Linked DNA regions of Homo sapiens: regions 1, 2, 3, 4, 5 and 6 are each linked to region 7. Evidence: promoter capture Hi-C in 16 types of primary human blood cells and fetal thymus (Javierre and others, 2016). All regions are on one chromosome and are shown on one strand. The core of a region is centred on a gene start or on the middle of the fragment in contact, and the rest is flanking DNA. Distances in the headings are between cores, read along the strand shown.

Region 1 (4,023 bases), core at 95-2,594, 320 kb after region 7:
AAGCTGAAGAAAACTTTAAGGAATCTGCCACTGCACGGACCCGAAGAAGAGCATCAGAAGGGAACTCTGGTGTTATGTCTAAACTGAAATATGATTCTTTCCAAACAAACAATGAAATGACAAGAAAAAGAGAAAAAAAAAACCCAAACTCTGACATGCCTACTGATTATTCTTCAAACTCATCACACAGCACATCCCATGACAGGAATCACCTCTTTTTCTTTCTTCTCCTGTCGTTTCTGCTCCTCCTCTTCTCTCTCTTTCCTCTGCTGTTCTTCCCATTGTTCCTTTAACTTTCTCTTTAAAGGGGAAGAAAAAGTAACTTTGTTTCAGTCACTTTTTAAAAACATTTCACATACAGCGCACATAGATGAAAAACTTAAAACACTGGCAAACTGAATAAGATCAGTTTTTTGTTTTTTTTTTTTAAGTTCAAGATAGGCAACTCTTTTTTTTTTTTCTTTTTGAGATGGAGTTCCGCTCTTGCTGCCCAGGCTGGAGTGCAATGGCGTGATCTCAGCTCACTCCAACCTCCCAAGATAGGCAACTCTTCATGAGAGTTATTATGGTGAAGTAATCAGTTTGTTCACTAGTTACGTGATTCCTACCATACCTCTTGTTCTTCTTGCCGTTTTTTAGCCGCCTCTTCCTTTTCCTTCTTTATTCTGAATTCTTCTTGTGCCTTCTGCTCTCTTAGCAACCACTCCTCATGTAATCTTTGCCTATCAGTATAATGATGTAATCAGATAAAAGAAATGGGCATTAATCCACAAATACACACACACACGAGAGCAAAATGACACATTTTGGGACTGATTCAAATATCACGAAAGCTATTTTCTATTAAAGCAGTCAAGTGGGTGTAAGAGAACGAGAAGAGCAGAGCTTTTGGAAAAGCACCACGTGTCAGCAACTATCTTCCTAATGGGTAATAACTTAAAATCTCTCTTACATTTCATAGGTATATATGGCTGTGACATACTTTACAGAAAAAAGGACACTATGACTTTCCCTCTAGACTGATCACAGTGATGTTTAGGTGACAATAAAATGGGTAGCAAGTTTCAAAGCAGCATCTACCTTTTCATATTCAGAAAGCATTTCCCTTCCTATTCTATGCATTTATTTTTATTTATTTATTTATTTTGAGACAGAGTATTACTCTGTTGCCCAGGCTGGAGTGCAGTGGCATGATCTTGGCTCACTGCAACCTCTGCCTCCCGGGTTCAAGTGATTCTCCTGCCTCAGCCTCCCGAGTAGCTGGGATTACAGGTGCCCACCACCACGCAAGGCTAATTTTTGTATTTTTAGTACAGACAGCGTTTCATCATGTTGGCCAGGCTGGTCTCGAACTCCTGACCTCAAGTGATCCACCTGCCTCGGCCTCCCAAAGTGCTGGGATTACATGTGTGAGCCACTGCACCCAGCCCCTATTCTTAAAAGTAGCAATTCCATGATGGCAGCACGCTGAAAACCCAGTATCCTTTGCCATAAACCTTTGGACTACTACTACACACAGTTAAGAGACTCCTGTGGTTTGCCTCCAAACACCTAAACAGCCAAAAGAAGGAAAATAAAAGTACATTGTAATCATGTTTTTAAAATAAAGCTACAGGTTTTAAGAAATGGAGTTATAAAAATAAATTAGTGAGGGCCGGGCGCAATGGCTCGCACCTGTAATCCAGCACTTTGGGAGGCTGAGGCGGGCGGATCACCTGAGGTCAGGAATTTGAGACCAGGCTGGCCAACATGGTGAACCCCATCTCTACTAAAAATACAAAAATTAGCCAGGCGTGGTGGCAGCCGCCTATAATCCCAGCTACTTGGGAGGCTGAGGCAGGAGAATCGCTTGAATCTGGGAGGCGGAGTTTGCAATGAGCCGAGATCATGCCACTGCACTCCAGCCTGGGTGACAGAGCGAGACTTCGTCTCAAAAAATGAAAAAATAAAAATAAATTAGTGAGTGTCTAGTCTATTTTTTATATGACCAATTATAATGAGTGGTATTACCTTAAAGTGGCAAGTGTCTCAGACATCCAATATCACAAATTTCTAATATAAAGAGGGGGTTAGATTGCCAAAGTCTACCTGCCAATTAGGTGTGTAGAACCTCAAATTCATTCTTCCACTGAATTTATAAAAGGGAAATTAAATATGAGAAACTGTTCTATATTACTTCAGCAGTATTAGGAGTTCAGTAAAGTTTTATGTCTAGTCTGGGGACCTAACCACAATTTTAAATAAAATATATTACATTTCCAAATACAGATTCCAGGAACACATCTTTTAGCCATGGCAGAGGCTGGCACATTGCATCTATCAGTGTTCCTATGCCATGTGTGAGGGTACCATATAGATGTTTCAGTGGGCACAACTCTGATTTACAAATCTTTTGAAAAACATATAATTGTATATAAATGAACCAAATGATATATAAATTAAGACCACAAGAAAGTAAAATGTTAAAAATTTTAAAATTTAATAACTTGAATATACATCTGCTTTGAAATAGGACATAAAGTCATACAGTATTTTTACATAATTTTCTTGCTTTTCAATAATAGTATGCAACTCATAAAGAAATAAAGATCTAAGGAGCACAAAGATACATGTATGTGATTTAAAAGAAGCATTTCAAATAAACAGGAAAAAAATTACTCTCTTATTTCATACCGTATCTATTGTCTTCATCATAACAGAAATCTATAATAATAAGAACTAGAGCTATCACAGCACCTCTCATCTGCTGACACTGTGTTAAACACTATACATCCATCACCTCCTTTAATCTTCACAATTCTGTGAGGTGGATACTGTGATTGACTTTATCTCCATATTACAGACAAGGAAATAGAAGCTTAGAGACATTAAGAAATTTCGGCTGAGCGCGGTGGCTCACACCTGTAATCTCAGCACTTTGTGAGGCCGAGGCGGGCAGATCATGAGGTCAAGAGATCGAGACCATCCTGGCCAACATGGTGAAACCCCATCTCTACTAAAAGTACAAAAAAAAATTAACTGGGTGTGGCGGTGCGTGCCTGTAATCCCGGCTACTCGGGAGGCTGAGGCAGGAGAATCGTGTGAACCTGGGAGGTGGAGGTTGCGGTGAGCGGAGATCACACCACTGCACTCCAGCCTGGTGACAGAACGAGAGTCCGTCTCAAACAAAACAAAACAAAAACAAATTTTAAAAAAACATGTATCCCAAAAGAGAAAGGTGTGAGACTTGAGCAATCTACAAATAGGTAATAAAACATATAAAAAGATACTCTACCTAATTCAGAAATGTGCATTTGAAACAGTTTCATTATAGTTTTATAAACTGATAATGCCTAGTATGAGTGAAGGTATGGGGAGATGGGCCCCTACATTCACTGCCAGAAGGGCTGCAAACTGCAAACCAGGAAGCCCTTTCTACCTGGCCATCTACATTTTACATGGACTTATGATTTGATTCCAACAATCTCATTTTTAGTCATGTTCTTAAGGAAATAACTGGACAATTACCAAGGATATATAAGCATGGATGCTTACTGCAACTTTTTACATATGAGTGAAAAACCAATATAACCTGAAAGTCCATCAGTAGAGAACTATAAATTATAAATGAATAAACTATGAATAGCAAATAAATTATGCTACATCTGTACAGTGGGTACTGTATTGCCACTGAAATGGCTGAATTAGATCCCTGCATCAGTACTGAAATAAATGCACTATATATTTAGCAAGAAAGCAATTTATAGAAAAATATGTATAAATATCATGCCATTATAGAAAGACACACGTAAAGTACATTTACACTTTCTTTTTCTCTTTCTTAACAGTGGCTATCTTTGGGTGTGTTGCAATTATTAAAGTCTTTTCCCTTTTTACATTTGTTAATTTTTTTTGTTTTTTTTCTGTTTTCAAAAACAATTACAGGTCAGGCGCAGTGGCTCATGCCTATAATCCCAGCACTTTGGGAGGCTGAGGCAGGCGGATCACTTGATCACAAGAGATCAAGACCACCCTGGCCGACAT
Region 2 (3,872 bases), core at 66-2,565, 280 kb after region 7:
CTCTTGTTGCCCAGGCTGGAGTGCAATGACACGATCTTGGCTCACTGCAACCTCTGCCTCCCGGGCTCAAGCGATTCTCCTGCCTCAGCCTCCCGAGTAGCTGGGATTACAGGCTTGCACTACCATGCCTGGCTAGTTTTGTACTTTTAGTAGAGACAGGGTTTCACCATGTTGGTCAGGCTGGTCTCGAACTCCTGACCTCAAATGATCCGTCCCCCTTGGCCTCCCAAAGTGCTGGGATTAAAGGTGTAAGCCACTGCACCCAGCTGTGCCTGGATTTTTAAATGCTACTGGGAAATTGCTATGGGCCTTAGAATATGACAGCAATGTTAAGTTTACCTTAGAGCATATATTCAGTATTTAATGTACTAGGGGATAAGAACATTATTGCAGATCCACATTTATTTGTGTGTGTATATGTACATATGTATATATATTCCCCTATGGGAGTATTTTAATAGTTAATATTGTCCTTCTGTTTGAAGTACTATTTTTATGTCTTTTTTTTTTTTTTTTTGAGATGGAGTTTCGCTTATCACCCAGGCTGGAGTGCAGTGGTGCAATTTCGGCTCTCTGCAACCTCCGCTTCCTGTGTTCAAGCAATCCTCCTGCCTCAGCCTCCCAAGTAGCTGGGACTACAGGTGCACACCACCATGCCCAGCTAATTTTTGTATTTTTAGTAAAGACAGGCTTTCACCATGTTGGCCAGGATGGTCTCAAACTCCTGACAGGTGATCCACCCACCTCGGCCTCCCAAAGTGCTGGGATTACAGGCGTAAGCCACCGCATCCAGCCTATTTTTATGTCTTTAATTGGGGAAAGTAAGTGCAAAGAGAAAAGCATAGGATGAGTATGGTTGGTCCCATGTAAAATTTTCCTTACCCCCTTGTAACCTTTGTTTAAAATAAAGAAATGAGTACTGTTAATTACAGTTCCTTGTCTTTAGAAGAAAGCTGTGGTCCTGTTTCTCTTCTATGACTACTTTTACATTGCTTTGTACACAAACGAAACTGAGTACCACATTGAGACATTGTCTATTTAGCAGTCTGAGTGAACCATTTTTCTTAGCCATGTAGGTCTTGGGGAAGCAGTAGGTGGTGGTCCATTCTGAATTTAGAGTGAGAATACATCGTAGGTTAAGGCCATTATGAAGCCAAGCTCAAGTCTGTGTGGAGCAGTAAGGCTTCAGGTTATTCTGTTCTCTTCATCAACATACTCTGAGAAGAAATGCAGGAATGGCAAGATGCATGTTTCCTAAAAATAGATTCATTTATATTTTTGATGCATGATACAAGTTTACATCTGTGGGAGAGTATTTGAATATTATGTTCATAAAATAGCAAGTGGAATAAGAGAAAAAGCACTCCACAAACTGCTGGAAAACTTTTTGTTTTGGATACCATGACAACAAAAATAATTATGATGGTAACTAACGCTTGAGTGCTTGTATGTGAGGCCCTGGGCTCAGCAGTTTGCTTTAAGCATCCTGTGCTAATCCTCAAGACACCCTGTGAAAGGTTAGAGGTAGCCTAATGAGAAAGTGGAATCTCAGTGAGGTTCCATGACTGGTCTGAGGCCACCTGGTTAGCAACTGGCAAAACCAGGATTCTAAACCCAGATCTACTAGGCTTCACAGCTGTGTAAAATCTTAACCACTGTGCACTTCCCCTAACCCCAGTTATGTATTGTCTTGGTATATATATTTTAAACGTTCTGTTTTAGATATGAACTTCTTTGTTTCTCAGTCATATAGTGAGAAATTCATAATTCTCCCAGAGGTTTTTCTGTGTGGAAAAGAGTAGATTTCCTAAGACAGTGCCATCTTTGACTTCTTAGACTGCAAATTTTTATTGTCCAGATTATCAGCAGTTGGAATTTTTTATTGGATATGTAGATATAAATAATATTTTTCAACCTATTTCTTGTTGGATTGATCAAAATGCCTGGATTTATAATAACTTTTTTGGTCTTATAGTTTGGGGTATAGCATTCACTTAATCAATTTCATGAAATGATTTTGCTTCCAAAATTGTAAATATAGCTGTGAAGATCTAAATTCAGACTTACATTTGTAGTAGAAGTCCTAATTGGTCAATTTTAATCTACTTTTTCATGTGTCATTATTTTTCTGTTTAGTGTCAGGTCTTTTACTTGAATTGATTATTTCTAAGCACCAAAGATGACTTTGAACTTATCATGTACTTATCTGTTGGCTTAAAGGTGTATACACATCTCAATGATTTTGATTTTTTTTTAATTTGTGAAATATACATTTCTATCCTTAAGAATGCTTATTTTCTTCAGAAAAATTAAAAAAAAATTTCTCTTACCCAATTTGTATAAACACATAGTTTAAGGTAGTCCTTCATTTTATAGCCAAATAGGGAAGAGGGTCAGTGGATACAGATTTTCTGTTAGCATATTACAGTTAGTAATAAAAATGTAACATTAAATGTACATTCAAATAATAGTTGCTAAAATATTAGCAGATATTGTGATTAGATAATAAAGATATCTTTTTTATTTTACTTCATTACTTGGTAAATAAAGGATTAGTTTTGACATTTCTAGACCAAACTTCATGTTTATTCCTTTTGGTGTTTGGTTGTATGAATACATAATTAGATTTGGGGGTAAAGCCCAGAAATTGGCCCGTTATCCATTTTTTAATGTTTGGCTGTCTTAACATGCCACTGGTACTAAAGATGATTCTTAAATTATTAAAGTACAACATGCTGAAATTGCTAAATTGATATTCTTTGCAATACTTGGAATACTTTTCCCCACCACCTATTTTAAGCTAGATTTTTGGAGGGATATGGTGGGGGGTGGTGATGTAGTTGGATTTATTTAAACACACACATATATAATGACAAAGGAAATAATAGTATGGCTTTTTTTCTGTAAAGTCAAGCACTTACCAGTTTTTCTCTGCTCCTTAATTTTATAGAGCCAGAATGAAGAATGGGGAGGTTTGTCTGAGGATATCTTATGATAAAGAGCAGTCTAAGGCTTTAGTCCCTTTGATCCCCAACTTATTTATTGGTAACTACTAAATTTACCATTTTTGTGGCATGGATAAAATGGAGTGCTATGCAAATACTGTTGCACGTGAGATGATTTCTAAGTCCTTGCTTGATCCGTGAAGATCAAATAGTTAAATACTGGGCATTTGGGCTTTAACCCTTAGCGGTTGATGCATGATGGTGTTGATTAGTGCTTTGAGATGTGTCAACCTTTCTTTTTTATACTAACAGCATCATTTTGAAATTTGTGGTGTTGTTTTTCTTTTGAGCTTTGTTTGCTGTTGGTATTTTTTCTCACTAAAGTAATCTGTGAAATGCAAAATAAGTGAGGTACCAAAAGCAAGCATAATACTCATGAATTTGCTTTTACTTTGAGATGATCCACTTTATGAATAGATTTACTGGATTTGCAGTTGTTTATCTGCCTCATCTAGAAAGTGGTACTCTACGGAGGATTAGCGCTGCTAAAATTGATTTGTTTTAGTGCTGGGGGCTGCATGATATATCTTAGTACTATGCTATATTTTTGTGAAAGTAATAATCTGTGGGACTGCATACAAATGGAAAGGTAAGAATCTTAGGAGAAAAGTGATTTCTTTTAAAAAATGAAGCTTTTGTAACTTAAAATTATTTTAATAAGTACTTTTTGAAGTATTGAATAACATATCTTTTAATATGAAGTTTTGGACTTTTTAAAGGTCAGCTCTTGATATAATTAAGAATATTTGGGCTGAGCACGGTGGCCCAAGCTTGTAATCCCAGCACTTTGGGAGGCCGGGGCAGTTGGATTGCTTGAGCCCAGAAGTTCGAGACCAGCCTGGGCAATGTGGTGAAACCCCATCCTTA
Region 3 (4,350 bases), core at 774-3,273, 340 kb after region 7:
ACTAATAATCAGACTGTAATGTACACATACAAGGCCAGGGACAAGGCCAAGCAAAAAATGTTCCTCACAAGGATGCATTACAGCTGTAAAATGACTAATAACCTCTATCTTTTGAGTGATTGAATAGCTTCCTTGGCCTACCTTTGTTCCGTTCTCCTCCAAATTAAAGTTTCTGAGATACTCAATTACTAAACTGCCTTCCTTCCCCTAATCCCTCCTTAGAATTACTCAGCTGAAGCCCAAACTCTGCATAAAACCTCACCCTAATCTCTCTTATACTGACACACTTGGAGCAACACATATGCCCTTCACCCCCAAGTTGACCTTGTCCAGCTCAGTGCATTGGTTGGCTGTGATCTTGAGTAAATTCCTTAATGTCTACTCCTGTTTTCTCATTTGTAAAAATCAAGATAGTAATAATAGTTCCCATCTCATAACCCTTTTATTGTGAAAACTGAGTAAGATAAGCCATGTTATATGCTGATACAGTGCCTAGCAATAGTGAATGCCTCCAAAACTTTAGCTGTTACATCATCTCATCACCATCATCATTAGTGTGAAAACTTCCTGACCCCTCAAGAGGGGATGAGGCGCTGTATGCATTTCCAGTACAAGTATTCCACCTTTTATAACATCTATCATGGTTTACTACACATTGTCACCTTTACCTTTCTGCTTCTTGACTAAATCTTAAACTAAACTCTCTAGTTGGAGGTTTGGCAGTTGTATCCCCAAACTAGAGTGCCCTGGATGGCACAGAATGTTGTAGCTATGCAACTCACCAATTTTGCTGGTCCCTGTGATCAGAATTTACGCTGAGAATTGCTGCCCGTTCTGAAAGCATCAGTGTTTAAGTTGTTGTAACATTTCTTCTGAATCAGACCAGACTTTCACTTCAGAACAATAAGTAACAATTCCTTCTAAGAAATCTCGGCTCACTGCAACCTCCGCCTCCTGGGCTCAAGCGATTCTTCTGCCTCAGCCTCCTGCGTAGCTGGGATTACAGGTGCATGCCACAACCACCTGGCTAATTTTTGTATTTTTTAGTAGAGACGGGGTTTCACCATATTGGCCAGGCTGTTCTCGAACTCTTGACCTCCGGTAATCTGCCCGCCTCGGCCTCCCAAAATGCTGGGATTACAGGCATGAGCCACCGCACCCGGCCATAGATTTTTTAGTGAGTTAGAAATGAATGTAAATTTCCTTTTATAGGAGTTAGACATTTATTTTTAACAATTAACCACTGAATTCATTTTCAGAAATAGGCCTGAATTGCTTGTTAATTTCATTACAGGAAGTAACTCTAAAAGCCAATTCCACTTCCAAACTATAATTACCATCATCTGAATTTAACAGGGAAAGACATCTTCCAAGACTTCTTTTGGGCGGATGCTTAGTTTTAGAATAGCCAACTTTACCCTAACCCATGTACAAGACAGTTCTCCAGGTGGCCTTGGACTGACCCAGTTCTCCCTTCTTCCTTGCTTGTAGTTCTTAAGAATAACTGTAGAATGCACTGGGAATGCAATATCCTGATATGGAGGAACTGCCTGAAACAGGTTGGCCTTGTTGTTGTCCCTCCTAGGGAATGTAACATCTTGATTTAGGGAACTGTTTGAGACAGCGAGGTTGTGTTCCTCTTTCCCCTGGAAGGAGGATGTACTTTAAAGCTTTGCCCAATGAGTTATGTGGCTCCTATGGTATATAACCCAAGGCAGGCTGTGGTGCAAGTGGGGCACGTACAATCAAGACTCCATCAGCCCCGCCCTGGGCAGCTTTCTTGAGCCCTGGGGGACTGGCTCACAATGGAGCCAGGGCCTCTTTTGTCCCTTGCTTCCTGTCTGTAAGTAATAAATCTGCTTCATGTAATGTATTGGGTGTGAGTGTGTTCTGTCACAATGGAATCAGACAGGTTGGTAACCAGTGTACACTGAACCTGCTTGGCACCATGTAGCCCTGGGAAAGGAGAAAGGCGGTCACAGCTTGCCCTATATGGTGATGCCAGCACACTGTGCACTGTACTGTGCAACAGAAAAAGGTGCACTGAGGAGGATCGGCTGCTTCTTCCCATTGTTGCTTCTTTAGTAAATCCCCTATGAGTTTTTAGTCGCTTTCTAATCTACAAGTTAAAGGATATCTCATTAATTTTACAGATATATACATATACTGTAACAATAGGAAGGAAGTCTTTCACCAACCACTAATACTGTAAAGAAAGCATTGTATCGATCTAGTATTATTTAATGAAGACGGACAGCAATTTTAATACAATCTTCTTTTCCAAGACCTTTGACAGACCTTAGGCCCATTTTCCACCTTTATGTCTAGGAAAGTATAAGTAAAACACTTTTGAGGGCATAAAAAACACAAGCTTCTTGTTAAGGTGTATCAGTAGCCAGGGAAATCTGCTGTGCCCCTTTGAGGGTCATCTAACTAAGGCATGGAGAAAGAAACTGCCTCAAGTCAGTTTCTATCACCTCTGCAGGGAAGCTGGCCATGCAAACCAGGACATGGTTCAAAGTGAAAAAGAGTGTGGTTAATAATCATGCCAGAACACCAGGTATAAGATGTAAGGGCAAGTCAGGCATTCTGTACATTGCTTCTCCCTTCAGTTTGGAAAACTCACTGCAGTAGGGTTTTGACTTATCGTTTCACAAGACAGCTAGGAAGGCCAGGCACAGTGGCTCACACCTGTAATCCCAGCACTTTGGGAGGCCAAGACGGGTGGATCACGAGGTCAGATCGAGACCATCCTGGTTAACACGGTGAAACCCTGTCTCTACTTAAAATACAAAAAATAGCCGGGTGTGGTGGCGGGCGCCTGTAGTCCCAGCTACTCAGGAGGCTGAGGCAGGAGAATGGCGTGAACCCGGGAGGCGGAGCTTGCAGTGAGCCGAGATCGCGCCACTGCACTCCAGCCCGGGTGACAGCGCGACTCTGTCTCAAAAAAATAAAAAAAATAAAAAAAAATAAAAAACAAGACAGCTAGGAGGAAAGCCTGTATGCTTTGGAAAATGCATATCTTGTGTGTTTACCCTTTTAAAGGTAACTATACTTTGAAACAGGTGAACTGCAGAAAGTTAACAAAGACTTCTTTTTTTACCATGTTTACCTTTCTAAGAATTCTATGCATTTCCTAGGGCATACATGCAAAAGCCTTCACATTTCCCCCTTTTTAAAAGAGATATTTCTCAAACTTATACGTATACAGTTCAGTAGTGTTAAGTACAATCACACTTGTTTTGCAACAGATCTCTAGAATTCTTGCAACACAAGCTCTGTACCCACTAAATACAAATTCACCCTCTCCCCTTCCCCCAACCGTTGCTTGGCAACCACCTTTCTACTTTCTATTGTATGATTTTGACTACTTTGCATACTTCACATGGAGGAATCATATAGCATTTGTTCTTTTGTTGGCTGGCTTATTTCACTTGGCATAATGCCTTCAAGGTTCATCCACATTGTACATTTGACAGGATTTCCTTCTTTTTAAAGGCTGAATAATATTCCATTGACTGTATATACCACATTTCCTTTATCTATTCATCTGTTGATGGACATTTGGGATGCTTCCAGAACCTCTTGGCTATTGTGAATAATGCTGCTATGAACATGGGTGTACAAATATCTCTTTGAGATCCCGCTTTGGTGGTAATTCTTATGGTAATTCTGTTTTCAGTTATTTGGGAAACCTGTGTACTGTTTTCCGTAATGACTGCACCGTTTTACATTACCACCAACAGTGCACAAGGGTTTCAACTTCTCTGCATCCTCCCCAATACTTGTTATTTTTTTGTTCTTCTGATAGTGGCCATCATGATGGGCGTGAGACGATATCTCATTGTGGTTTTGATTTGCATTTCCCTAATAATTGGCAATGTTGAGCATATTTTCATGTTCTTATTGGCCAATTGTATAACTTCTTTGGAGAAATGTCTGTGCAAGTCCTTTGCCCATTTTTAAAAATTGAGTTATTTGGTTTTTTGTTGTTGAGTTGTAGAAGTTCCTCATATATTCTGGATTTGGGCTCCTTATAAGATAGACGATTTGCAATTATTTTCTCTCATTCTAGAGCTTGCGTTTTCACTTTGTTGATTGCTTCCTTTGACACACAGACATTTTTAAGTTTGATGTAGTCCCGTTTCCTTCCTAACGATCTTTAAGTGTACAGTTCAGTAGTGTTAAGTATATTCATCCAACCCTATCTTGCAGACCAGATGACAAACATATTAATGAAAGAAATACTACCAGTCATTGACGCAACAGAGTCTGAACATAGGCTTAGAGGCATTCAGAAACATTCCAAGATATTTATAAGCAAGAGCCACAGGAGCATGAATTCCTCAG
Region 4 (4,344 bases), core at 746-3,245, 300 kb after region 7:
CGTTAACGTTTCAGTATTTTACGTATGTTTTAAGTCCTTATTCCCAAATCTCAAATTGAAAAATGTCACATACTCCAAAATTCTAGATCCCAAATATGTCAATGGAAAGAAAGCGACAAAAAATTGATAAAGCTGGAGAGCATCTTATTTATGATCAGAAATCTAGGTATAATATTTTGCCTGAAGCTTTTTCTGCATTAGGTTCTATTCTCTGACCATTCTGTTGAGATTTTTATACCAGGATTGCTTTAACACTAGGCATATTTAGTACCAATGACCCTAATATTCCTGGAAATGACAAAAATAAACTTTACTCCTATATAAAGAACTTTCCAACACACTATTTAAAAAAGTACACGACAGCCCCCAGCTGAAGAGTAGGAGGAAAAAAAATGGACTTTGCCCATCAGTACTTTAAAACTGAGAAAATGAACTTTAAAGCAAAAAAGCTGTTCAGCTATTACATATAGAAAAATCCAATAGATTATTAATAAAAGGCAAACAAGCAGGGCTCACCTGTAGTTTCAGATATTCAGGAGGCTGAGCCAAGAAGATCGCTTGAGCCCAGGAGTTTGAGGCTACAGTGCACAATGATCATGTGAACAGCCACTGCCCTCCAGTCTGGGCAACATAGCAAGACCCTGTCTCTAAAAAAAGGGGTAGGGGGCCAACAAGAATAAAAAAACATTAAATATATGAACACATAAAATTTATCAAATTGGTAAGGATTAAAATTACTTGGCGTTGTGGGAGCAGCAAAGTTTATTGACATAATAAATTTTTTATAGTCTTCTGGCAGGCAACTTGGAAATATTTTAGTATTCATGTCCTTGATACAATTTATCCTAAGGAAATGATCAAAAATATGTGGAAGTATTTAAGAAAATCCATCACAGGATTGATTTCAGCACAGGATTCTTGAATAGTACAAAATTAAAAATCTAACAATGAGGATATGGTTGAAAAAACTGATCCATATTGTGCAGTGAGTAAAACGAAGAATAGGGCTTGATGAAGTATGACTGCTTCTTGTGAATAAAAGCATATTCAACTGCATTCATATGTGTTCTTTGTATTAAAAAATGTGTACATAGGGCTGGGTGTGGTGGATCACACCTATAATCCCAGCGCTTTGGGAAGACAAGGTGGGAGGATCACTTGAGCCCAGGAGTTCAAAACCAGCTTGGGCAACATGGCAAAACGCTGTCTCCACAAAACAATGTTTAAAAATTAGCCAGGTGTGGTGGTGTGTACCTTGTAGTCTCAGCTACTTGGGTGGCTGAGATGGGAAGATCACCTGAGCCCAAGAGTTTGAGGCTGCAGTGAGCTATGATCACGCCACTGCTCGTGAGAACCTATCTCTAAAAAAAAAGAAAAAAGTGTACACACTAAAACAATGCTCCAATGTTTAGTTCTCTCTCAGGGTTAGGATTACAAGTAATTTTCATGTTGTTATTTATGTATTTTATGTTTTCTATACTAACCATACTTCATGATTATAAGAGAATAAAAATATTTTTAAATAGAATTCCAGGCTACACAGGGTTCAGCCAGACTTGCGAACCCATCTGCGTTCATAGCCTTCTATCCGAGTATGTAGCAACCATAATAAATAAGATATACAATCATTTAAGAACAAAACTAGTTTATTTGGATTTGGGACTCTGAACAGTTCTGTCTCTATTACCCGACCTCCTCCTGCCACGACTTCGGGACCTAGAGGAACTTTGGCTCCGGCTGCGGCGGCTCCTGCGGCTCCGGCTCCGGCTCCGGCTCCGGCTGCCCCGGCCCCGGCTGCGGTCCCTGCTGCGGTCCCTATTTCTTCCTCTGCTTCGTGAATTGTGCCTCTCCCGACTCTTTGATGTGCGTTTGTGAGATTTCTTCCCCCTGTGACGACTACTTTTCCTCTCGGATTCCCCATTTCTTTTGTAGGAGTGGTCTGGACTAGGGTTTCTCCTTCCCCGCAGCCTGCTGTAGTAGTCGTCGTGGTGGCCCATCCTCTCCCTCCTTTCGGAGTTCTTCCCAAAGGAGGAGCCAGTCCGATCTGGAGACAAGTAGATGTCTCTATTAGCTTCCCAGAATTCATTGTTGGGATTTCTGAACACATGAAGAAAGTTGCAGTGCTTTCCTCTTGGACATTGTTGTATTTCAAATAAACCTGCAATGGCACAGTGATGAAACAGCACTTATCACTGCATATTCTGAAGATGCTACTTTATCCTTTTCCGAAGGTACATTTCTGATATTTGGATATGCTAGAACTATTTTCTACTGTGTATTATGTAAAAGGGGCTTACATAAATTGATGTCATAATTTGGTTCCCACGATTTCAAACGTGCTCTAATAAATGACACTCTGAAAGGTAACAAATCAGAAGTTTTCATTAAGCAGAATAGCCTGTGCCCCTGTTGGATTATGGTGCAGACTGCAACTGAGCAAATGGTGACCACGTTATCTTCTCCAGGTTTCACCTTCCCACTGATTGACGATTTTGATCCCTGATTAACATCAAATAGCCAGCTCTTTGGGTCCCTGTGGTAGCACGGTTTGATGGCATGGAGGAAACAGGCCAGAACCACTGGTCAAAAGAGAAGGCGTGGCCAGGTGCGGTGGCTCACACCTGTAATCCTAACACTTTGGGAGGCTGAGGCGGGCACAGACCTGAGGTCAGGAGTTTGAGACCAGCCTGGCCAACATGGCGAAACCCCATCTCTACTAAAAATACAAAAATTAGCTGGGCGTGGTGGCAGGCGCTTGTAATCCCAGCTACTCAGGAGGCGGAGGCATGAGAATCACTTAAACCCAGGAGGTGGAGGTTGCAGTGAGCCAAAATTATGCCACTGCACTCCAGCCTGGGCGACAGAGTGAGACTCACTCTCAAAAAAAAAAGAGAAGGCCTATTAAACATAGAGGAGTCTATATTTTCTTTAAACTTTAAGATTATAAACATTACACTAATGCTTCAAATTCACTAAGTGCTTTTAATACAGAAGATTCTTATCACAGATAAAATCTATTCGAACAATTTTGAGATCTTTGGGGTTCTCAAACGTTTTTTAAAAGCAGTAAATTCCCCAGATATGCACAACAGTTAGAAGTGAAATACCTCCGTACCACATACTATATACAAAAATTAAACTGTATCCAAGACCTAAATGTTAAGAAATGAAACTATGACCTTGAAGAAAACATACAAGTAAATCTTTGTGACCCTGGGCTAAGCAATGTCATCCTAGATGTGACACCAAAACAAACAAAAAAATAGTTAAGTTGGATTTCATCAAAATTTACAACTTGTATTTCAAAAGAACATGAAGTGAAAAGAACCTACAAAATGGGAGAAAATATCTGCAAATCATATTTGTGACCAGGTACTTGTATGGAGAATATACCAAGAACTCTTACAACTCAATAATAAAAAGACAAAGAGCCTAGTTAGAAAATAGGCAAAGGATCCAAACAGACATCTCTCCAAAGAAGACATACAAATGGCCAATAATGAAAAGATGCTCAGTGTCTTTAGTCAATAAGGAAAATAAAGTGTTTTTTTTTTTTTAATGAAATAGTCCCCTGCTTTGGAGGAGTCAAGGTCACACTCAGAAGCTCCTCACTGAACTCACACTGGATTCCCAGGAACTGACAAAAGTAACTGCCTTTATGGAGCGAACAATTCCACCTCTTCCATCCCCCGAGCCTTTAAAGTGTAATGGTTCTTCTGGTTTCCCTTAGCCAGGAATCCTAAAATCTTTCTTTTCCCTTCATAAATGGTTTCAGAATGACAGAATCCAAGGAAGACAAGCTTGCCAAAGATTCTGACTTTGCGTTAGGCAGGCATGTATACAGCAAAGAAACACAAGTAAACGGTAAGATAAGTGCTCCCCAGAGGCATTTAGAGCTCATCTCTTTTCACCTAGGGAACAGTCCACTGAGAGAAATCAGAACATAACTAGGCCTTCAAAACTGCTGGCTATTCTGCACAAGACTGGATCATTTCCTGATTGGGTTGCCACTGTCCGATGTCAGTCTGACTGCATTCATGTTTAACTGATCCCAAGCCTACAATTAGTCTCTAGTGCACAGAAGGATGTATTATTCCAAGTAAGGCAGGAAATGCTATGGGCAAGGTAACGTAGGTGGTCATGACAGAAGATTCATTAGGGATAAAGATGGAAAGAAAGAAACAAACAAACAGCTCAAGTGAAGTGAGCCAATGAATATAAAATACCTCTGAAACTGCAACAAGGGAAATGGGGCTTCCACAGACGTAAACTCCTCAGGCTTCCTGATTTGTCAGACACAGAGCCCAGGACTGAAGATTGGAAGACTGGAATTCTAGCCCCACC
Region 5 (4,054 bases), core at 219-2,718, 450 kb after region 7:
CTCACCCTGGCTCTGAGAACTCTATCTCATTTATATAAAATGTTGCCAATGCTAATCATTTTTTGCATGAAAAATTAAACACACCGGAAATGGGATCAAGTGCAGCCTGTGTAAATTACTGCATTGATTTTTATAGCATTATTTTCTCCCAGATGATTTGAGGCCGCGTACCAAAATATAGGCAACACTGTATAAAGTAAGTATTATAGTTTAAGGAACCAGAGGGGAAATTCATGGAGGGAGAATAAATAATGTAGCCAATGGTAAGATTAACACTCAAGTATGCACACTTTCAGATCCAGAACAGTTTTTGAAGGTGGGCAAGAGATCTCACTCTAAGCTTCCATAGAAAACAGGAGATAACAAGTATTTTAAAGTTTTACGGTGTTCATAAAAACCAATCAATCAGGATTTTGTTTGCTTTTGAGAAGCACTGTTTGTTTTTTTAAAAATAATTTTTAGCCCCAAGGCAAATCCCAGTTCCTCATCATGATGACGCTGTGAGCTACGTGGGAAATAAGTGTCATAAGTTGTTACACCCACATTCCCTCAATGGAAACTGTTGGCATAATCACAAAGCACAGGGCACTGAATCAATTTCATGAACCATCCAAAATTTCCTGTTCGACTGAGTACACAGCCCCACAATGGTCTGGTTTAATTCAGGGTAGCATTTAGATAATCTTTCCCCATAATGGCACATAAGTTTCAACTCACATGTCAACTCCCATTTATTCATATTAGTGGACTGAATAGCTCAGTTGGGGTGGCTGAGTCCATGCACAGAAGGAAAAAGTTCTGAAATAGATAAAAAATGTTTGTCATGGGTGTGGGATGAGCAAATGGCTGCAAACAACCTGTCATCTCTGATTTGTAGTAATAGGGATCTCTTGTGCACATCTTTTAGGCAGTCCACAAAAACATTTCTCATAAGACTTTTGATGAATTTCAGACAGTAGAGGGTTCAGGGTCATCACTGGCCGAAACGTAGGATCAGAAATTCTGAGATATTGATTAATTCATATGTCTTTAATATTAATGAGAGCATATAACCTAAAAGTTATGTGGTCTGATCCCGCCCCCGCCCCCACACCCTTTATAGAGGTTGGCAAAAGAAGTACCTGTTGTCAGGGCTAAATGTGACTAGGTGACCTCCAACTGGTGGGCAAATTGATGATTAAGGATGGAAAATACTATTTCATAGACCATGGCTGCAATACTGTTAGCCTAGTAAAAAGAGAAAATTGACTTGCCAAATCATGAGAAAACTCTTACACCTGAGCAACAGTGGAACCAGCTAAACCTGTAAAAGAAATGTCTTGCTTTAACTACATGAGACCCATTATAAAGCATTGGTCTCCATGCACAAGATGAAACACACAGACACACATACTTTTTTTTTCCCATTTAAGAAACTGTCCTTTAAATTGCTACTTTAGGAGCATAAAGTTGGCAGAATTACACTCACTCAGTTGATCTGAATTAATTTTTATTTCCAAACGGTAGTGATTAACTTTCTCTGAAGTAGAAAAATGTTAACTTGTGAAGAATAAGACAAAGTTCATAATGATTATGGCTACTGATTAACCTACAAAATTTGATGAGCTTTTCAAATATCCTTGCTTAATATGATTTCTCATCTTAAAAAGGGGATATATGTGATGGAGACAAAAATATTCCACATTATAGAGTTTCTTGCTTACCAAGGATACTGGAAATTGTGTGTGTGTGTGTGTGTGTGTGTGTGTGTGTGTGTGTGCGCGCATAAAATTAAGCATACCAAAAGATTGTAACATCATCTGTTCTATATTCTAAAATTATTATTAAAATAAGCTCATTTATCTTTTTATTAAGATGGCCAATGAAAAATAATTTCCTGTTTTTTGTAGTCATGGGCACGTAGTGGGCTGCCAGTCCAACAGCCTGTGATTAGTAAATAAAGGGCACATTGGAAACTCACTGTCAGGGAATGTCCTTCCCATCTCCCATTGTCCTTCTCTGTGTCATTTACAATGAACCCATTCCCACATTGAAATCTTCATTAGCCTCTCAGGACCATTGTTGGAGAATCCAGACTCTCTGACCTCTAAGATCAGAACCCAACTTGGCTTTTCAGATGCATCTACACTGATGCTCTCTCCCCCATCTTCCTCTGAACCACTCTACCAGCAAGTCCCTGCTGTTGGCCATATCCTGTATCTGTCCTTTGTGTTTGTTTTCAGATTTCCTTAACTTGTATCCTGTGGGCTTTCATGTTTTATCTTTAAACATCTTGCCATTGTTCCAGGTCTATCTTGATTATCATTGAGAAACCTTTCTTCTATTTTTCTTTTGTTAACAGTTTTATAATTGACTTGTCAAATCCAGTAACTTTTTATCCTCTTTTTCTCCAGTGTTCCTATAGCATTTTGTTCACAATTGTATGTGCATCTATTGCCATCGTGATTTACTTTTGTGTCCTACAAAATTGTAAGTTCCTGAAGGGCAGAGACTATATTTGGTTCATTTTTGCATTTCTCGTAGCCCATGAATATGATAGTTTAAGAAAACTGAGTTGACTAATTTGAATCATAAACTGAAGTTCTAATAAGCTTGTGACTGGAAATTAAGTACCATGAAATGCATTGCAATGTATATATTTTTACATTCTTAGCCTTAGAGAAACCACACACACACACACACACACACACACACACACACACACACACACACACACACACACACTTGTCTCCCTTTTTTCTTCTGTTCTTCCTTGTGTGGGTTATTTCCATTAACTCAACTACAAGAAGAAAAGAGTTACCTAAATGACATTTTTAAAGTTTGTGGGGGTGTTTTGCAGCATCCCTGGCCTCTACCCACTAGATGCCAGTAGAATCCTCTCATCTGCCATTCATGATGACTAAAAATGTCACCAGACGTTGCCAAGTGTCTCTGGAGCACAAAATCACCCCCAATTGAAAACCACTGAGTTAAAATAGAACTTACACACAATAGACAAAAATACTTTGTCTCTCCATGTATCTTAACACTGACAATTTAAAGAGAATAAAATTATTTTTGTTGCCTAATTATACTGAAAACATTGTATAAATTATTAATAATACAAACATCTTGATATTGTTTATTATATATAGTATATCCATTTCATTACAATTTAAACAAGGAAGGATGTCATTTATTAAAATTCTACAACATTTAGGAAATCATTGAGTAGAGCCATTTAATTAAGATATTAAAACTTCCAAAGGGGTTTGTGTGTGTGTGTGTGTGTGTGTGTGTGTGTGTGTGTGTGTGTTTTGTTTTTGGTTTTTGTTTTTTTTATTTTTTGAGACAGAGTCTCGCTCTGTCACACAGACTGGAGTGTGGTGGCACAATCATGGCTCACTGCAGCCTCAACCTCCCTGGGCTCAGGTGATCCTCCTGCCTCAGCCTTCCAAGTTGCTGGGACCACAGGTGCATGCCACCAAGCCTGGCTAATTTTTGTACTTTTTGTAGAGAGGGGGTTTCGCCATGTTGTCCAGGCCTGTCTTGAACTCTTGGACTCAAGCAATCTGCTTGCCTCGCCCTCCCAAAGTGCTGGGATTACAGGCATGAGCCACCATGCCCAGCAGCAAAAAGTGTGAAGTTTTAAAATCTTATACAAAGTTTCTATGTTCAATTATTAAAAGTTTTAATTGATTTCTTTTAATGTGTCACAGCCAGATAACATTTCTGAAAATCCAATAAAAATATACAGAATAATGTCACATTTGAGATGGTTTTACAGTTTACTAATTTTAGGAGCTATATATTTACTAAATTTCTGTTTTTGATAATGAAACAAAATAACCAGGGTCAATTTTAAAAGAAACATTGGTCATCTCCACCTCTTGCTTTATTGGAGGTGAATGGAGCCTACATACGCCCACGTATTTATACGAATCTAGTGAACTTAAGGGATCTTGCATGAATCAAAAGAACGACACATGTGTTTTCTTTTCATGTGATCTCATATTCTGTTTACCCCAGAGCAGTAGATCCATAGTTATGTGCCCAGAAAGTGCTTTTCAAGAGT
Region 6 (4,197 bases), core at 1,285-3,784, 260 kb after region 7:
CTGGTTGCGATGTAGATTCCAACAATCAGGTGCACCCATGAAAGATTTGGAAGGTGGAAGTGATATATCATGAACAGGCGGCCTGCTTCTGCTATTTCTGGGGCAAGCAGGGTTATGAAAGCATTTGGCTTTCAGTGACAGTTGTAGAGGGAGTCCAGTGTCCAGTCCCTAGCTACACAAGTGAAAAGCAGCAGTGAAAAAAGGCATCCTCTTTGCTGGCAGCAGATTTCTGATTTCCAGATCGTGGCAGTGAAGTGATAGTCCTGGAGCCAGCAGTTACATGGAAACAGTGGCTTAATATTCCAGCTCACTGATCACAGCAGAGGCATCAGCTCTCTGGCAGTCAAGTTCTGTAGTGCTATTCTGGAAGGTTTTCCTGGAAGCTCAGCCCAGATTTTGCTCCTCCAGCAATTCCAATCATTTTTAGACTGCTTCTGTTTGTACGGTTTATTTTACCTACAACTGAACTCTGACTACAGTATATCCTATGATTTACCACATTTCATCCAGAATGAGCTCTCTGAAACTCTAGAACTCAAATCCAATAACGGCATTGCCCTTGCTTAAAATCTTTCAATGCCCTCCAATATCCTTATATAAAGTCCAAATATTTTAATCTTGTTTGAAAGATCCTGCATGACCTGGTCCTCCTATTCTCTGCAGACTCATCTTTACCCAGGAACCCTCTGACCACACTAACCTTCCATTCAGGTACCTAAGACATGAACCCATCTCTTTGTCTTGGCAAATGTCATTCTCCCTATATGGAACATTCTTGCCCTGTCTTCTCTTGACTGTCTCCCCCATTCTTTTCCGATCTTGGCCTAAGGGCTTTGTCCTCCAAGAAACATTGTCTGACCCTACCACCCATCACTACCACAAAAACTCTGGGCTAGGCACTGTCCTGTGTGTTCCCACAGGTCCCTGGCCTTCCTACTTTGAAACATTGTACCGTTTGAAACTTCCTAGTTTGAAGCATTGTACTGCATTGTACTGGGATTGCTGATTATATACTGTGCCATCCATCTTGTTCCCATTATACCTTAAGAACCTGGTGAAAGGTTCCATGTCTAAGTTGTGTTCTATTTTACCCCCAGTTCTCAGTGAGTACCTGGCACAGGTGTGCAAATTGAATGAAGTAATAAAGAAGGTGAAGCATTTTAAGCAGAAGGTTTAATCTCTATTGGATTTATGTTTTAGAAAAGCATGTGGCCATGTGCAGAAAGAACCATAATGGAATCAGGTGGAGAGAATGAGCTGAGATATAAAGTCCAGTTTGTTAGTCTGACCTAGTGCAATATTAATGGGGATGGAAAGAAGGAGAATACTCCAGAAAAACTGATACACTCAAGAAGTAATGAGACAGGGCCCAATTAAACCTTTTTTTTGGGGGGGGTGGGGAAGGAGTTTCATTCTTGTTGCACAGGCTGGAGTGCAGTGGTGCGGTCTCGGCTCACTGCAACCTCCAACTCCTGGGTTCAAGTGATTCCCCTGCCTCAGCCTCCTGTGTAGCTGAGATTACAAGCATGCAGCATCACGCCTAGCTAATTTTTTGTGTGTGTGTTTTTATAGTAGAGACAGGGTTTCACCATGTTGGCCAGGCTGGTCTCGAACTTCTGACCTCAGGTGATCCGCCTGCCTCGGCATCCCAAAGTGCTGGGATTATAGGCGTGAGCCATTGCCCTCAGCCTAAACCTTCTTTTGGCACCACAATTCAACTTAATTAACATTTTAGAGTACTTACTCTATGCAAAGCATTGCATTAGGTTATGCCATAAAGCAGTTATTAAGATATTATCCCAGTTTTGGAGATTGCAAGGATTTCAGTCAGCTAGTAAAGACATAAATACTTTAATACTGGACAGAAAGGCAAAAGGAAGTAGAATTGAAGAGTTTACATTTCAAGGGTAAGGTTTTTCAGTTTATTTATTTATTTGTTTGTTTTTGCCTAAAGATAATGGGCTAGTAGTTTCTGGGCAATAGACAGTGTCCTGTGGTGGCAAGAACATTGCCTGGAGACAGAACATAGGAGTCTTACTTCTCCACTTGCCACTAACTGGTATGATCTTGAACAATTTGCTTAACTTCTCTGGACTTCATTCTTCACTTGTAAAATAAAATTCTTGAATAAAATTACCTTTAAAATTCTATTATCTTATATATGTGTTATATTTAAAATGTGTACAGTATTTCTAAAATTTTTCATCAAATTATCTAATTAAAATGTTCCTGTATTCTAAATAGTGCTTTAGGATAAATATTTTAACTTAGCTTTTTGTATAGTATTTAGAAGACAAGGATATAATAGAGTCAAAAATAAATCTCAAGCTTTGGTTTTTTGATTCTAAGAGGTTGATGATAATACTGTATTCACTTTTGCCAATTAGGGACAGTTTACCCAAATGTGCTTGCCCACCACCCCACTTCACTTCCTCAGCCCTTTCAGCCTTACGATTTTTTAAATTTTGCCTTTTCTATTGCCTAGTATTAATGCTAGGCTTTGTCAGAGGAATGTAAAAAAGAGCCTTAAATCATTCTTTTTGCCCTCTTTGATAGACAAGTAGTTTAAAATTCTGTGCTCAGACTGTTTAACAATTCTTCTCAAATTTCAATGGAAGGGAGACATATAAAAGAGCACAAAAAGCAGGATTAGAATCAAGTATCCACTTGAAAATTCACTTGCTCTTCCCATCACTATGCATGGCTCCTTCTCTTTGTAACTAAGTATGCAACAAGCTTTCAAGAATGAACAGGAATGCTTGCAGCTGTAACAAATGAACCTGGGAAAAAAAATCAGTGGCTTAATACAAAGTTATTTCTCATTCATTTCAAGTACAATAGGAGTGATGATGGTGGTAGTGGTTTGTGTACGTCTCTTCCTTGCAGTCATTCAGGAACTCAGGCTGGCAGGATACCTGGGTGTCATCATCCAAGTGGCAAAAGCAGGTCTGGGGAGGGAAGGAGGGAAGAAGGAAACAGACTTTCCTGTGGGAGCTTTTTATAGGCTAGACCTGTCACTTTTATTCCTATTTCATTGGCCAGATCTCAGCTCCATGGGCACACCTAACTACAGAGGAAGCAGCGGAATGAGGTCTAGCTGTGTGCTAAGGAAGAGAACGGGCAGGTTTTGATTACTACTTAGCGGTCTCTGGTCTCTGCCTTACCCCTGGGACACATTGATTCTGTCTAGCTGTTCCCTCTGGACTTCTTCCTTTCTACCCCATGTCTTTAATTGCTGACAAAGTATTTCAGAGGTGACTCCTACTTGCCATGAGTAGTTGGGAAATATTTTTAAGGTAGTGATTTTCATCAAGTAAGCATCTGACTTTTATGATGCAACCTTCGAGTTTCCCTAAGCACTTCAGTTTCTGCCTTAGAATATTATAGCTGGGAAAACTGGCTAGCCATATGTAGAAAGCTGAAACTGGATCCCTTCCTCACACCTTATACAAAAATTAATTCAAGATGGACTAAAGACTTAAATGTTAGACCTAAACCCATAAAAACCTTAGAAGAAAACCTAGGCAATACCATTCAGGACATAGGCATGGGCAAGGACTTCATGTCTAAAACACCAAAAGCAATGGCAACAAAAGCCAAAATTGACAAATGGGATCTAATTAAACTAAAGAGCTTCTGCATAGCAAAAGAAACTACCATCAGAGTGAACAGGCAACCTACAGAATGGGAGAAAATTTTTGCAATTTACTCATCTGACAAAGGGCTAATATCCAGAATCTAGGAAGAACTCAAACAAATTTACAAGAAAAAAACAAACAACCCCATCAAAAAGTGGGCAAAGGATATGAACAGACACTTCTCAAAAGAAGACATCTATGCAGCCAACAGACACATGAAAAAATGCTCATCATCACTGGCCATCAGAGAAATGCAAATCAAAACCACAATGAGATACCATCTCACACCAGTTAGAATGGCGATCATTAAAAAGTCAGGAAACAACAGGTGCTGGAGAGGATGTGGAGAAATAGGAACACTTTTACACTGTTGGTGGGACTGTAAACTAGTTCAACCATTGTAGAAGACAGTGTGGCAATTCCTCAAGGATCTAGAACTAGAAATACCATTTGACCCAGCCATCCCATTACTGGGTATATACCCAAAGGATTATAAATCATGCTGCTATAAAGACACATGCACACGTATGTTTATTGCGGCACTATTCACAATAGCAAA
Region 7 (3,883 bases), core at 1,150-3,649:
GAAACCAAAATCTCTCCTTCCCATTAAGAAAATTACCCTCATCCTGAAGAGCCCTCGGCCATTGGTAACAAGCCACAGCCCTTCTGCCAGCTCCAGAGTTTGCCAGCCCTGAATCAATACATGAAACTGTCTGTGGTCATTGGTATCTGTGGGCAGATGTGCAGGGGAGGATGTGCAAGCCGAAGGGGAATGGAGGGAATGGAGAAACTCTGTCCAGTCGGTACAATGTGCAAACCTTACTTCTGTGCTATTACTTTTCAGACTTTGAAAATGTCGTGTGCTGGGCAGTGTGCTTCAGGTAGCTAAGCATAAACACATGTCTATAAATACTGATAACACTATCTTTATTTGTCCATTACTCAACAAAGCCAGATCACCTGAGGACTGTTTGTTCCTCTACAAAATGAGAATCCAGCACCACATGTATTAAAATGTGGGACATTTTCTTCGGAGTATAAACTTTCAAGAGCAGCATCTATGTCTTTTCCAGAACACTCTCAAATCCTTCTGTATCTTTAACACATAACATACAGTTGATTATAAGTGAAAAATTTATAGTCTAGGTTCATTGCAGCAGTTTTTCTGGGTTTGACCATATGGTCTATGCTGTGTCTGAAAGTCTATTCATTACTATGTCCAATTTCCAGAACACAGAAGTACATAAAGTATGTTCAGTAATTTATGTGAACAACCTGCAGCTATTTCTTGACTTGCTAATTCAGGTAAGTGTTTCTTACATGCTAGACACTTGATAAATGTTCAAAGAATGAATATATAGTTTTAAGACTGAATAAACGTAAACTTTTATGCAATGTGCTCACACAAGAAATGCAGTTTGCAAATATGTATATTTCCCAGAATAAAAAACTGTAGTGAACTCCCTCTTCCTCCCCACAATAAGCCCCAAAAGCATGGTATATGAAGTATTGTCAATAAAGATATTAAAATTAGAAATCAACCTTGAATAGAGCTTTCTCCAGAAAATTTTAAAAACTCAAATAATGTTTGATTTCATTTAAGAGAGACTTAGGAAAACCGGCATACAATTGTTCTATCACAGAGAGTCAAATTCAAAATCAGCTGTGAGAAAAGTTAAACTGTCTGAGGAAAATGAATTTCAGAGAAATGAGGCTTATTTTCTCCTCTTGGTTATTTCTGAAAGAACGTTTTGAAGAAATCCAGTGGAACTTTCCTGTTCTCTGAGGGGTTTCAATTGCTCCTAAAAAACATTTGCCTGAGGTTTAAACTCTATTGGGTGTGATTGTCTTTCTCACTGGTCAATTAATTTTGCAAGGAGGGAGAAGTTAGGAAAAGGCAATGCTAAATAGATATGTCTCCAGAAAAAGGCACCTCAGTTTTCTGCTTAGAGATTTTTTTTTTCTCATCTGTCTCCTTCTGTCCCCATCATTCACTTTTCTTTCTTAAACCAATATGTTACACTCAAGAAGTCATACCCAGAATAAAAACCTGCCTGGAAGGGAATCCGTGTTTGAGTAAAACTTCCCTTGTGCAATCAGCTCCCTGTCCCGACATGGTAGTTCATTTACCCAGGCGTCTATCACCCTTGGAGAGCATGTAACTTTCAGCCTGTACTTACCTGTCTGCCGAGAGCGCCGTGAGTGTGAAGACAGACACCCCAACAGAGGTAAGCTGTATAAAGGGGATCAGTTTGCAGCCAATCCTGCCAAATAGCCATCTGTCAGCCAGGTACCTGCTGGCATCCACTGGAGCACACGTTATTAGGAGGAGCAGGTCTCCCAAAGCCAGACTGGAAATGAACAGGTTTGGAACGTTTCGCATGGACTTGACTGTACAGAAGATCTTGATCAAAGTGATGTTGCCAATGAGGCCTATCAGAATGATAACCCCATAAACTGCAGGGATGACATAGAGGATCCCCGGGTGGGACCAGTCATCGTTCACGGGGAGATCCGCACTGTGACTGGAGATGTTGCAGTGCATGAAATGGTCCACCTCCAAGTTCAGAAGGAAACAGTCATTTAGAGCCATCTCTAGATTTTTTTTCCCACCTAAAAGTTCCCTTAGATGCTATTTCTTAACTATTGATTTTGCAACCGAGTGAAGATGAAGATAAGATCTATGCCGGGCTCTTTGCCTTCTTTAATAAAAATACTCTGAGTACATATATACTAACTATGGTATTCAAAACTCTCTGTCACTATTTTGACACTGGTGCTGCTCTGGCTTTCACATGACCAGTGCAATACAACTCTAAATTCAATAAGTTAACAACAACAAAACTTAGCCACAAAAAGGCTTAGAATTAAACCCACTCTGCATCAGTTCTTTCTACCTCCATTCTAGTCTGAGTCTCCCTGGCTGCAGTTTACTAAGAACTTTTGGCCTGCTATTTTCCCACAGCGTCTTTCCTGATATTTAGAATCTGGAGGTTTAAAGTGGGTAGAAAAAAACTGCACTGAGAAATCCTCAAATCCTATAGGCAGGATGCTTTGCACGTCACGGGCTTCACCAGCAAACGGCAGCTCCGCTGAGCTGAGGCTCTGAAGAGGAACCAGTGTTACTTATAGACAGAGAATGCCAGCCCCCTGCTGGACACTTCAATCACTGCCCAGTTGCCTGCTTTCTCCAGATGAGAAGCAACCAGCCGACTGCAGTTCCTACCTAGCTTAACAGATACCTTTGGCTTCTCATGTAAGCACATAGCACCTAGGGTAGGTATTTAATAAATGTTGCTAGCATTCTGCAAAGGCACTGAAAATCTTTCTGATACTATCCCCATGAATCCAGATGGGGATTTACATCCCATTTTCTCATTTTTTCTAATTCATTAGAATGACATGTCAATATTGCTATCAAATGAGGTCTGTCTTTGAATTAAACGCACACTGATGCACAGGGTGTCCATGTGTGAGTTATCCCACTCAGTCTTCCCACTGCCTCTTTGAACAGGGACTGATCCTCAGAAACACATGCACAGACTCACACCTTAAACCTTCAGCAACTGACATCTGGAAAAGCCAGAAGCACAATGCACACATGTTCTTTCCTGTAGATTTGCCAAGCCATTCCTATTCTGTTTACCAGGGAGAAATTAAATTGGGAACCAGCTGTATTCTTAACTCTCAATGATCAATAGTCTTTTCCAGAAAAATGGGTCTTTTCTCATCTGATCTAAAAATTTTATGAATCGGCATTTTGATGCAGCTATTTGCATTTTTAATTGAATGTTTGCCATGTTTTATAGCAAATATCCTCTTTATAGCCCTGTGTGGAAAATAAAGAACTATAAAAGCGTGATAGATACAATACTGAGGAATTGAGTGGGTGGTAAAAGAAGTAAGTTATCGTTGAAGGAGTGCTAGAAAAAGCTTAATTGAGGAAGTGCTATTAGAATCAGGCTTAGACCTTTAGCCAACAACTTCTAAATACATTATTAGAGTGCATCTTTATGACGTATGTGAAGCCAGCTCCTCCAGGTACATGACGTGAAGCCAGTCACTAACAGGTGAAGTCTCATTTTTCAGAACCCATAAGGAATAACAAAACTTGCACTTACCATGCCAGGGCCCACAAAGAAAGCCCCCAACTGTGTTGTTATGGACATTTCCAGTGGCAGGTTCCAACACTGAGGCTGCTGCCATGCTTTCTATGTAAATATGAAAGGCTCAGCGCCCCTCTCTGCCAGCAGGAGGGAGACTGATGCTGCATGGCTAGAGGTGGAAGAGCTTCTCGGCAGAGATCAGTAGCACCAGTAACCAGCCAATAGCCATGAGCCCAGTGGTGTTGATTAGTTGCCAGCAATATAGCTTAATGATACAGTACACAGGCTCTGCTTCAATCCTGGCTCCCTCATTTATAATTATGGCAAGTTACTTAGTGTCTTAAGCTTCAGGTTCCTCAT

The links. Contacts are between HindIII fragments. The CHiCAGO score rates a contact against its expected background, and 5 or more counts as called.
Region 1: a contact is called between a fragment that was not itself captured here and the fragment with the promoter of GRPR in region 7, in 3 of 17 cell types (M0 macrophages, naive B cells and M1 macrophages). The highest score is 6.2, in M0 macrophages.
Region 2: a fragment that was not itself captured here is called in contact with the fragment with the promoter of GRPR in region 7 in 7 of 17 cell types (total B cells, monocytes, naive B cells and 4 more); the score reaches 9.7 in total B cells.
Region 3: a fragment that was not itself captured here is called in contact with the fragment with the promoter of GRPR in region 7 in 3 of 17 cell types (M0 macrophages, monocytes and M1 macrophages); the score reaches 7.4 in M0 macrophages.
Region 4: a contact is called between a fragment that was not itself captured here and the fragment with the promoter of GRPR in region 7, in 1 of 17 cell types (neutrophils). The highest score is 5.4, in neutrophils.
Region 5: a contact is called between a fragment that was not itself captured here and the fragment with the promoter of GRPR in region 7, in 1 of 17 cell types (total B cells). The highest score is 7.1, in total B cells.
Region 6: a fragment that was not itself captured here is called in contact with the fragment with the promoter of GRPR in region 7 in 4 of 17 cell types (total B cells, M0 macrophages, naive B cells and 1 more); the score reaches 6.5 in total B cells.

What each region holds. Positions count from the first base shown.
Region 1 is chrX:15,800,387-15,804,409 of GRCh38, reverse strand. ZRSR2 (zinc finger CCCH-type, RNA binding motif and serine/arginine rich 2) reads right to left here. Exons shown (of 11, transcript NM_005089.4): 4 at 614-722; 5 at 213-299. Among named protein-coding and RNA genes, the nearest start is that of ZRSR2, 12 kb to the right of the region's middle. The HindIII fragment of the contact is 3,030 bases long and covers 1-2,859 here.
Region 2 is chrX:15,839,670-15,843,541 of GRCh38, reverse strand. All of the region lies in intron 4 of AP1S2 (adaptor related protein complex 1 subunit sigma 2), which reads left to right. Among named protein-coding and RNA genes, the nearest start is that of AP1S2, 13 kb to the left of the region's middle. The HindIII fragment of the contact is 4,648 bases long and covers 1-3,639 here.
Region 3 is chrX:15,784,485-15,788,834 of GRCh38, reverse strand. It overlaps CA5B (carbonic anhydrase 5B), which reads right to left. Exons shown (of 8, transcript NM_007220.4): 8 at 424-4,350. It overlaps CA5BP1-CA5B (CA5BP1-CA5B readthrough), which reads right to left. Exons shown (of 12, transcript NR_160544.1): 12 at 424-4,350. INE2 (inactivation escape 2) reads left to right here and starts at 1,246. Exons shown (of 1, transcript NR_002725.2): 1 at 1,246-3,119. The HindIII fragment of the contact is 701 bases long and covers 1,673-2,373 here.
Region 4 is chrX:15,820,545-15,824,888 of GRCh38, reverse strand. It overlaps ZRSR2 (zinc finger CCCH-type, RNA binding motif and serine/arginine rich 2), which reads right to left. Exons shown (of 11, transcript NM_005089.4): 11 at 1,629-2,158. The coding sequence ends at 1,647. Among named protein-coding and RNA genes, the nearest start is that of AP1S2, 32 kb to the left of the region's middle. The HindIII fragment of the contact is 3,614 bases long and covers 189-3,802 here.
Region 5 is chrX:15,669,550-15,673,603 of GRCh38, reverse strand. It overlaps a transcript of CLTRN not described here. Among named protein-coding and RNA genes, the nearest start is that of CA5BP1-CA5B, 3.9 kb to the left of the region's middle. The HindIII fragment of the contact is 2,251 bases long and covers 343-2,593 here.
Region 6 is chrX:15,860,227-15,864,423 of GRCh38, reverse strand. No RefSeq gene overlaps it. Among named protein-coding and RNA genes, the nearest start is that of AP1S2, 7.5 kb to the right of the region's middle. The HindIII fragment of the contact is 408 bases long and covers 2,331-2,738 here.
Region 7 is chrX:16,122,081-16,125,963 of GRCh38, reverse strand. GRPR (gastrin releasing peptide receptor) reads right to left here and starts at 2,399. Exons shown (of 3, transcript NM_005314.3): 1 at 1,598-2,399. The coding sequence starts at 2,010. RefSeq lists an enhancer at 2,404-2,698. The HindIII fragment of the contact is 8,500 bases long and covers 1-3,352 here.